Linked DNA regions of Homo sapiens: regions 2 and 3 are each linked to region 1. Evidence: promoter capture Hi-C in 16 types of primary human blood cells and fetal thymus (Javierre and others, 2016). All regions are on one chromosome and are shown on one strand. The core of a region is centred on a gene start or on the middle of the fragment in contact, and the rest is flanking DNA. Distances in the headings are between cores, read along the strand shown. Region 1 holds the start of THSD7B (thrombospondin type 1 domain containing 7B). Region 2 has its middle 140 kb from the start of HNMT. Region 3 has its middle 120 kb from the start of HNMT.

Evidence for each region. The method cuts DNA at HindIII sites, captures the fragments that hold promoters and counts their contacts. A CHiCAGO score of 5 or more calls a contact.
Region 2: a fragment that was not itself captured here is called in contact with the fragment with the promoter of THSD7B in region 1 in 2 of 17 cell types (M0 macrophages and M2 macrophages); the score reaches 7.4 in M0 macrophages.
Region 3: a fragment that was not itself captured here is called in contact with the fragment with the promoter of THSD7B in region 1 in 1 of 17 cell types (M2 macrophages); the score reaches 5.3 in M2 macrophages.

Annotation. Positions count from the first base shown.
Region 1 is chr2:136,764,156-136,766,855 of GRCh38, forward strand. THSD7B (thrombospondin type 1 domain containing 7B) reads left to right here and starts at 1,390. Exons shown (of 28, transcript NM_001316349.2): 1 at 1,390-1,532. RefSeq lists an enhancer at 1,372-1,873. The HindIII fragment of the contact is 11,987 bases long and covers 1,029-2,700 here.
Region 2 is chr2:137,824,681-137,827,408 of GRCh38, forward strand. No RefSeq gene overlaps it. Among named protein-coding and RNA genes, the nearest start is that of HNMT, 140 kb to the right of the region's middle. RefSeq lists an enhancer at 2,037-2,096. The HindIII fragment of the contact is 4,775 bases long and covers 1-2,728 here.
Region 3 is chr2:137,847,940-137,850,795 of GRCh38, forward strand. No RefSeq gene overlaps it. Among named protein-coding and RNA genes, the nearest start is that of HNMT, 120 kb to the right of the region's middle. The HindIII fragment of the contact is 6,731 bases long and covers 1-2,856 here.

The DNA.
Region 1 (2,700 bases), core at 140-2,639:
AGCTTCTCTATTTATCTCTTGAATCTAATTTGCTCTATGACATCAAGCTTTAATTTTATCATTATTATTTTGCTTCATTTTAAGCACCCATGGTGTGCCAGGCATTGGATAAAATAGAAAAGATACAATCCCTGCTGTCGCTGGGCTCACACATTTAAAGAGATTTGACAGGCAAAATATCCTGTAATTGGCAATAGGTAGTCCTCATGCTTCCCCCCGCCCCTTCTCCCTTTTGAAGCAACTTCATCTCTCTGAACAAGCTTAAGAAGTTCCCTAGATCAAAGGTGTCAAAAACCAGAAGGGTTTGGAACAAGTGTCAGAGAGTAAGCAAACGACTTTCTGAGCTGTGACTCTGCTCCTCGACTGCCCACGTGCTCTCCGCTGTCTGCACTCCTGCCTCACCTGGGCTGACTCGGACTCTCCACCTCCTTTGCTGCTTCCGGCATGAGCTACCCAGGAGCCTAAGGCGCTCCTTCCCGCAACTCCGGTCCCCGCGCCCCGGGACTGCAAATCCTTTAAACAGAGGCCCCAGAGCTAGGGGTTTTCCCAGGCTCTGGTGGGCGTGGGCTGACAGTCGCTGGGAGCCCCGCAACAGGGGGGATGTCCAGGCAGGTATGCACCCAGCTCCCGGCGTTTCCCGGAGTCACCACAATGTTTCCCTTTCTCTCTCCCCCACGTATGCTGCTAGGGGTACTCCCCAGATAGGATTTTCTTTGTCTTTTCTCCTAGTAACACCGAAGCCCTCTCGTGCCCGGGGACTGCAGAGGAACGCCAGACCATCCGGACCTTGCGGGATGGCTCGGTGTGTGTGTTTTACTGTGTGTCGGAGTGTCGCGCATGTGTGCGTGTTGGGGCGCGTTATCAACAGGGGCCTAGGGCACCCCCACTCTTTCTTGCTCTCTTCCCCCATCACTTCATGGACCTCCGAGGCGCAAAGCGCTCGACCCTCTCCTGGGCTCAGTGGCTTGGGTACTCCGGGCTGAGCTCAGCTGGGGAGTCCCCTTACCCAGCCCGCACCGGCACCCCGAAGCTTCAAAGTTGCGGCAAACAGTTGCGGGGAGCAGAGGAACTGAGGTCCAGGCCAGCGCGCCCGCGGTCGCTCGCCTTGGGGAGCAGGCTGAGCCGAGGGTCGTGCGGGTGCGCGGCAGAGGCGGTAGGAGGCGGAGGAGAGGGGGGAGAAAGAGGGGGCGGTGGGGAACAGCTGCCGGGGTAGGCGAGGCGCAAGGTGGCTCCCCGCGGCCCCGCGCCCCGCGGCTCTCGGACGCACCAGGCAGCCAATGGCTGCGCAGAGGTGTACAGCAGATGGCGTCTGACTGCGCCGTTCCTTCCTCCTCCTCCTCCTCCTCCTTCTCTTCCTCCTCCTCCTTCTCTTCCTCCTCCTCCTCCTTCAGTGCTGAGGAGCCAGAGTCGCCGCCGGGTTGCCAGACGCTGGAATGGGTGGTCTTCCGACACACACCACCATCTTTCTTGCGCTCGGGAAGCTCGGGGCTCAGCGGCTCCCAGAGGTTACGGCGGCGGCTCTGGCGAGACGGGTGAGTGCAAGCACGCGGAGCCCCGAGTCGGGGATGCCGGGCCCCCTGGCCGGCCGACTGGGGCGCGGGGTGGCAGCGCCGGGGAAGGGGGCGCGCTGCCGGCGCAGACTTTGCTCTTTCCTCGCCGGACAGCCATCGTCGCCCCTTCTCCCAGCCAGACGCGGGAACTTGGAAGCGGATCTTCTCGGACGCCTCTGGCTTGGGGCTGCGGGAAGCGTGGGCTGCCCGGGGCGCAGTGTGCGGAGACCCTCTAGGCGGGCGGGGACGCCCCACGCGGCGACCTGAGCACCGACCTCATGCAACGGGACCGAACCTTGGGACCCGGGCAGCAGGAGCTCTGTTCCCTTCACCTCCAGCTTGGTTTGAGGGATACTGATGAAGGAAACCGGGGGTTTCCCGTCCTGCGCGGAGAGCCTCGGCGCCCAAAATCGAAAGGCCGGGAGTTGTTCTGCAGGCTTTGCAAACAGGTTGACTGAGGGTTTCCTTTCCCGTAGCGCTGACTGCGAAATCTGTGCATAGGCGTTCAGTGCCAGTGGAGGATAGCTGAGCAAGCCAAGAAGTTTTGCAGCTTCCTCTGATTTATCGGTGGAGTGTCAGGAGGCTGTAGCAACAGTTTACATTTCCCCTGTCCCTGCGAGTGGCTAGGGGCAAGCTGGGCTCGGACGTGATATCCTGCTGTTTGTGGAGAGGAAACTGGGAACGGGGCTTGAGAGTGAGGGGCAGGGAGGGGGGGACAGGCATATTTTCTACTGCATCGCCCATCTGCACCTGTCCCCTTTGCTGTCTTACATGTCCCATAGTATTAAAGTTATTTGAATAAGCAAATGAACCCCGCTCTTTGGTGACCGCGTATTTTGAAGTTGGAAAACTTTGCAGGGGACGAGGGAATGTTGAGGAGGGGGCGTTAAGCTCTCTCACTCTATCCCTTTTTAAAGACAAGAAAAAAACTTTCGTTGGCGAAGGTGGTACTTTTTTCTTTTGGAATGTCTGAGCTCAGAGCTTCCCATAAGAGGTATTGCGATTCAATACTGTACAGTCAAGGTGAAGTTCCACTAAGATTATGGGACCGTGGCATATTCTACGGAAGATACCAGGGTTCCTTGGCGCTCTGTTCATTGCCAGGGTGGTCTGCTGAAAGCCGGCAGTTTCCCACCCTCAGACTCCTTGG
Region 2 (2,728 bases), core at 33-2,532, 1.1 Mb after region 1:
CAATTTAGCAAGAACCTGCATAACAAAGGTCAAGATTATCCTGACCCATTCAATGTTCAGATGAGGAGTGAAAAGGATAATAGAGTCAGGATGACTCAACCACGAAAACAGGTAACTAAAAAATGTGCCAGTACCATTAGCAGTGCTAAGAAATTTAGAAGAGCTAGTCTGGGTGGAAAGAAGGCAGTAAGTCTGGATTTTAGACATTTTGGATTGGAGAGGTCAAATAGAATAGCTAAACATATTTTGTGTAGTTTTTTGCCTCAGGCCTACTCTTTTCTTTTTTTCTTTTTTGAGACAGGGTCTCACTCTGTCACCCAGGCTGGAGTACAGTGGCACGATCCCAGCTCACTGCAGCCTCCAACTATTGGGCTTAAGCTATCTTCCTGCTGCAACCTCCCAAGTAGATGGGACTACAGGCATGCACCACACTCAGCGAATTTCTTTCGATTTTTCTTTAGAGATGGGGTCTCGCCATGTCACCCAGGCTGGTCTCCAACTCCTGGGCTCAAGCAATTCTTCTGCCTCGGCCTCCCAAAGTGCTGGAATTACAGGTATGAGCCATCGCACTCGGCCCATTTAAGTCTTATAATTACTCTTTGAAGTGGAAACTATTATTATTATCCCCGTTTTACTGGGAGAACAACTATGACTTAGCGATATTAAAAATAGCTAATTATACCATTCGCTAGTAAGTGGCAAAATCCAAATGAAGATAGTCTTCTGATGCAAAGCTGATCAACCACTGAGTCAGTGAGCAAATTCCAACCAAAAGGTCTTTCTGAGAGCAGCCACAGAGGCTTTGGTTTATCCACCTAGTCATGGGAGAAGGAGCCACAGGAAGAAAACAAAATTGTTCAAAGGGAACACAGACATATAAAAAAAAAAGGCAGCCCTGAAGAAAATGTTGAGACAGACCAATTTGAGTGAGTAGTGGGAAAGGGGAAGGAGTAAGAATATGGAGAATGGGAGAAATTAGGGAAGACAGGATGTGTGTTATGAAAAACAAGAAACAAGTTCTGAGAAAAATGCATAATCCACAATGTAAATTGTTGCCAAAGGGGATAACAACTAGAAGGTTATGGGGAACTTTGGGATAATAATGACAAACAAGTAAAACATGCTTATTATGTGTTAGGAACTGTTTTAAGTACTTTACATGAATTAATCATATAATCATCACAGCAAGTTTATTACCCCATTTCACAGAGAGAAGCTGATGCACAGAGAAGCAATGCCCAGCTAAAATAATTAAATGGCAGAAAATTTGCCTGAGATGGCTCTGACACCCTGGGTTCTAGAGTAAGCAAGCCAAAACCTGGTACAGAACTTAAAAGAAAACAAAACTTAATCTCAGCCAATCACAGGCAGGCTAGTGGGCATTAGGTAATATTGTCTTGAACTTCCTGTTAAGATATTCTAAATAAGGCATTTGCTCACACTTTAGCCAATCAGATAATTTATTTTATTTGCTCTTACATTCACCCTATAAAACTTCCCCTCATGTCCCTTTTTAGTGCTATGAACCATTTCTAGTTTTAAGCTGTCTGATTCATGAATTACTATCTGCTCAAATAAACTCTTTATCTTTTAACAGCCAAAAGTCACTCAGATCGTAAGTAGCAGAGCTGTGATACAACCCAGTGAGTCCAATCCAAGTATATATATCCTTCATTGTGCCACAGTTTCAGGAGAATGGCACCTGCACTGACCAGATGATAGCATGTTGACAAATGACTAAATGTTATTATTTTCCCTCTTGCTATCCAGTGGTTAATGGGATAACCTGGCTTAGGGATCTTCCTTTGTTGCCGACTCATTTTTTAAAAAGCCAAGGAGCTGGAGTCCAGCAAGGGTCAGCGTAGTTGTGCTGCAATGACCACACTTTAGTTTCTGTGGCTCTGGGGACTGACTGCTGGACTCTTTTGACAAGTGAACCAAAGCCTTAAAGGTCAGGACCAGTGTTTCTCTGGGAGTTGCTTAACTCCCTCTCCCCTTTTTTCCTGATGTATTTTCCTTCAAAATAGCAGAGAAGCCAAGTAGACCCACATATTTGGTAAGAAGGAGAAGAGAGGATGCTGGTGAAGAACAGGAGTCTGAGTCGGTGCTAAACAAGAGGAGATCCCAGTGTCAATTACAAGGGCCTTTTTCATTATGAGTCAGGCCTTTGCTACTTGATTTGAGGCACAGTACATAGAGGTTTAGGGTTAACCCTACCTAACCACAGAGAGGCAGCTGCTGGAACCAATGAAAAAGAATGATTGCAAACAACACTCACCAATCATTTGTCTCCACAAGAAGACCCTCTTAGTCATTCCTTACTGTTCCTATTCATTAATTCCTTTGAGAAGGGCCATTGCTTGTGAGCTTTGGTTGAAAAGCTCAGCATTTTTCCTGAGAGGAATTCTACGTTACCCCATTAGCTGGAGCAAAGTGGAAGTGAGGTCATCCTGGAGGCCCCAAAAGGGGTCTGGTTCTGGGGAGGAACTGAGCTTGATTTGAATAACTGCTTTTGCCAGCTCAGCCCCAAAGCCTCAAATTTCTCATCTCTTATGTTGCTGAATTTATGGCTTCTACAGCCTCCCCGACTTGCTCTCTCCTTAAGAGCCCACATTTTTCTGCCTTCACCATTTTATTGAAGAGCTGTTTGCCAAGATTCCCAATGATGGAGTCCAGGTACCAAGAGGAGGATGGGAGACCAGGCAGGGGAGCCTCAGTTACTGCCCTC
Region 3 (2,856 bases), core at 308-2,807, 1.1 Mb after region 1:
GCTATGCAAAAGAGACACACTTGATATAAACAACTATAGCTTTTATTTTATGTGTTAAGAATGTTGGGTTGAATGTAATAATGTAAAAATTGACAGGTAATACAATTTAAAAATAGTAATAGTTAACATTTTTTACTATTTAAGACCTACTATGTGGCAGGTACTGTGTGAAGCATTTTACATTCCTTTTCTTATTTAAAATTCCTCCAAACCCCATGTGGTAGGAACTATGAGTATCTCAACTTTACGAAAGAAATAATAACTTAAAGAGGATAAGTAATTTCCTTATTTAATGTAGATACTTACGGGCAAAGCCAGGATTTGAACCTCATTCTGCCTGGCACCAGCGTGTTTGGACAATCTTTCTTCAGGCATGGTTATACTCATGACAAACATGATTCATTTATTAAAATAACATTATAGAAGTCCAGGAAAAAGGTGGCTCCAGGGCAAATGGAAAAGAGGAAAAGATGTAAGATAAATTACTAAATTGAATACAAGAGGAGAGATGAGGATTCGAGAACAACTTCAAGTGTTTAAACATGAGATAAAAGGAGAACAGTAGCACCACTAGTGGAAATAGTAAAAACTAGAGAATAAACTTGTCTCCAGTAATAAAAAGTTTTGGCTCGACAATGGTAAAACAGTATGGGCTTATTTTAGACCAAAGTCCAAGTTTTATAATTGTATCCCTTGAGTCCAGCAATTACCAAAATAATGTTATTAAGGATGAGATGTTTCCAGGGGGCGGCTTGACCACAGTGCCTATCTTCTCTTCTTCCTAAGATCAGCATACACAGCAATAAGTCTACACACTATTTGGTGAACTAGCTCAACTACTGTGGGCATTTGTATCCTGGATCAAGGATATTCAGTTTCAATCATATAGAATTTCCCTGACACTAATGAGATTACTTCTCTTTAGTTATTCCTATTGATTATCAATCCTCCTTCATGTAAACCAAAGTCCCCATCAAGTTTCAAATGCCTTGTTTTTAAATATGAGCCAAAAAAAAAAAACCCAAGAAGCTACAAGCACACAAGAAAATTAACATATAAATGCAAAAGAAAAAATAAGTATAAAATAGGAAGAAAGAAAGGAAGGTAGGAAAAAGGAAAAGAGGAAGGAAGGAAGGAAGGAGGGGAAGGAGGGAGAAAAACCAGAGAAAGTTGAGATTTAAAAGAATAGAAAATGGCTTAAAATAATAAAATAAAATATTGATTACTGTTCTCAGAGAGAGTCCTGAAGATATTTAATTTATAAAACCACTGTTGTGGCCCTTAGAAATCATTACTTCTAATGTCTTTTGTTGATAGTGTTTATTGAAAAGAAAAGTATTTGGATGAATGCTTGTTGCTTAAGGGCTTTTGCTTGAAAATTGCAATATTAATTGTCAGTACTTTTATAGAAAACATCATTGAATGACTATATCTGTGACACAAAAATGAAGGGGATAGTTTTAATTTGAAGCATTTTCTTTATCACAAATTACATATCTAGCAGAATTCACAGCCCTTCAAATAAGGTTTGCAATTACAGGAAACTTATCTCTACAAGCCCCTTGAGAAGCCCTGGACTGGATTCCATGATTCCAGCAGGTATCTCTTAGAGGCATCACCTCTTACAGGACTCACCAAAGCTCTTGCTAGGTAATCTGCAGAAGTATAATAAACTTTAAATAATAGCCTCATGAAGACATCATAGTTTACTGGAAGTCACTATTATGGGCAACTAATCTGCAAAGCACATTTTCTTATATCCTCCAAACTTTGCAGCGGTGCTACAAAAATCTAGGTATGGAATTAGGAAATCAGCATTAAAATTACAGCCGTTTACCATTTGATTTTAAATAAGTCAATTACCATTCTGAGTTGTGGTTTCTATGTAAACCATGAATACAGTAATACCCTTATAGCATAAATTGCTAAAAAAAAATAAATTTAAAAATTTTAAAGCGCTATCATGATAAATAGCATATAGAAACTCTATTATATTGAAGATAATTTGTCGCATGGGCATTAATTAAAATTTCCATATAAAATCAAGATCATTACACATTATCATCATAAAAACTGAATATATCTGTTATTTTATCCACCCCAAACAGGTCTAGCTTTATTTTTAAAAAATCTATGTGTACCCCAAACCCTCTCTGTTCTATTAGAGAGATAGACATTAATTTTGAGCAGATAACCCCTACTAAAACAAAAACACACACACAACATGAAATACATGATCTTAATGATAAAATATGAGGTTTCAACAATATAAAAACCCAAGATTAATCTCTAATTCTGTCATATTTGGAAGATAATGATTTTATCTCTTTAAATGTAAGATATAGACATTTGAAGTGATGATTTATAAGATCTACACCACTTTGGAGCTTAAGCTCTAAATATTTGTAATAATCATCCAACCTGGCCATAACTGTGAATAAAATTGGTCCAAAACATAGATTTTATTTTTTTCTAGATTTTTCTTTATATCTATAAATATTTTTAGAATAGTAAATTTACCTTTTGAGCAAAATTATGGTATCTCTCAATTAATCATGTAGAGAAAATATTTATGATCTTCATAAAACTTTCCTTGCCTTATAAACTCCACGATACTACAGAAAATGTCACCAACACAATTACAGCCAATTTTTTTGTTGAATATTCTTGGCAAAGTTCCTCAAAATGTTAAACATTAGAGTTAGTACATGACCCAACAATTTCACTCCTATATATCCTAAAGAAGTGAAGATATATATTCACGCAGAAACTTGTACATAGGTTATAGCAGCATTATTCATAATAGCCAAAAAGCAGAAACTGTACAAATATGCACGGACTGATGAATAGTTAAAC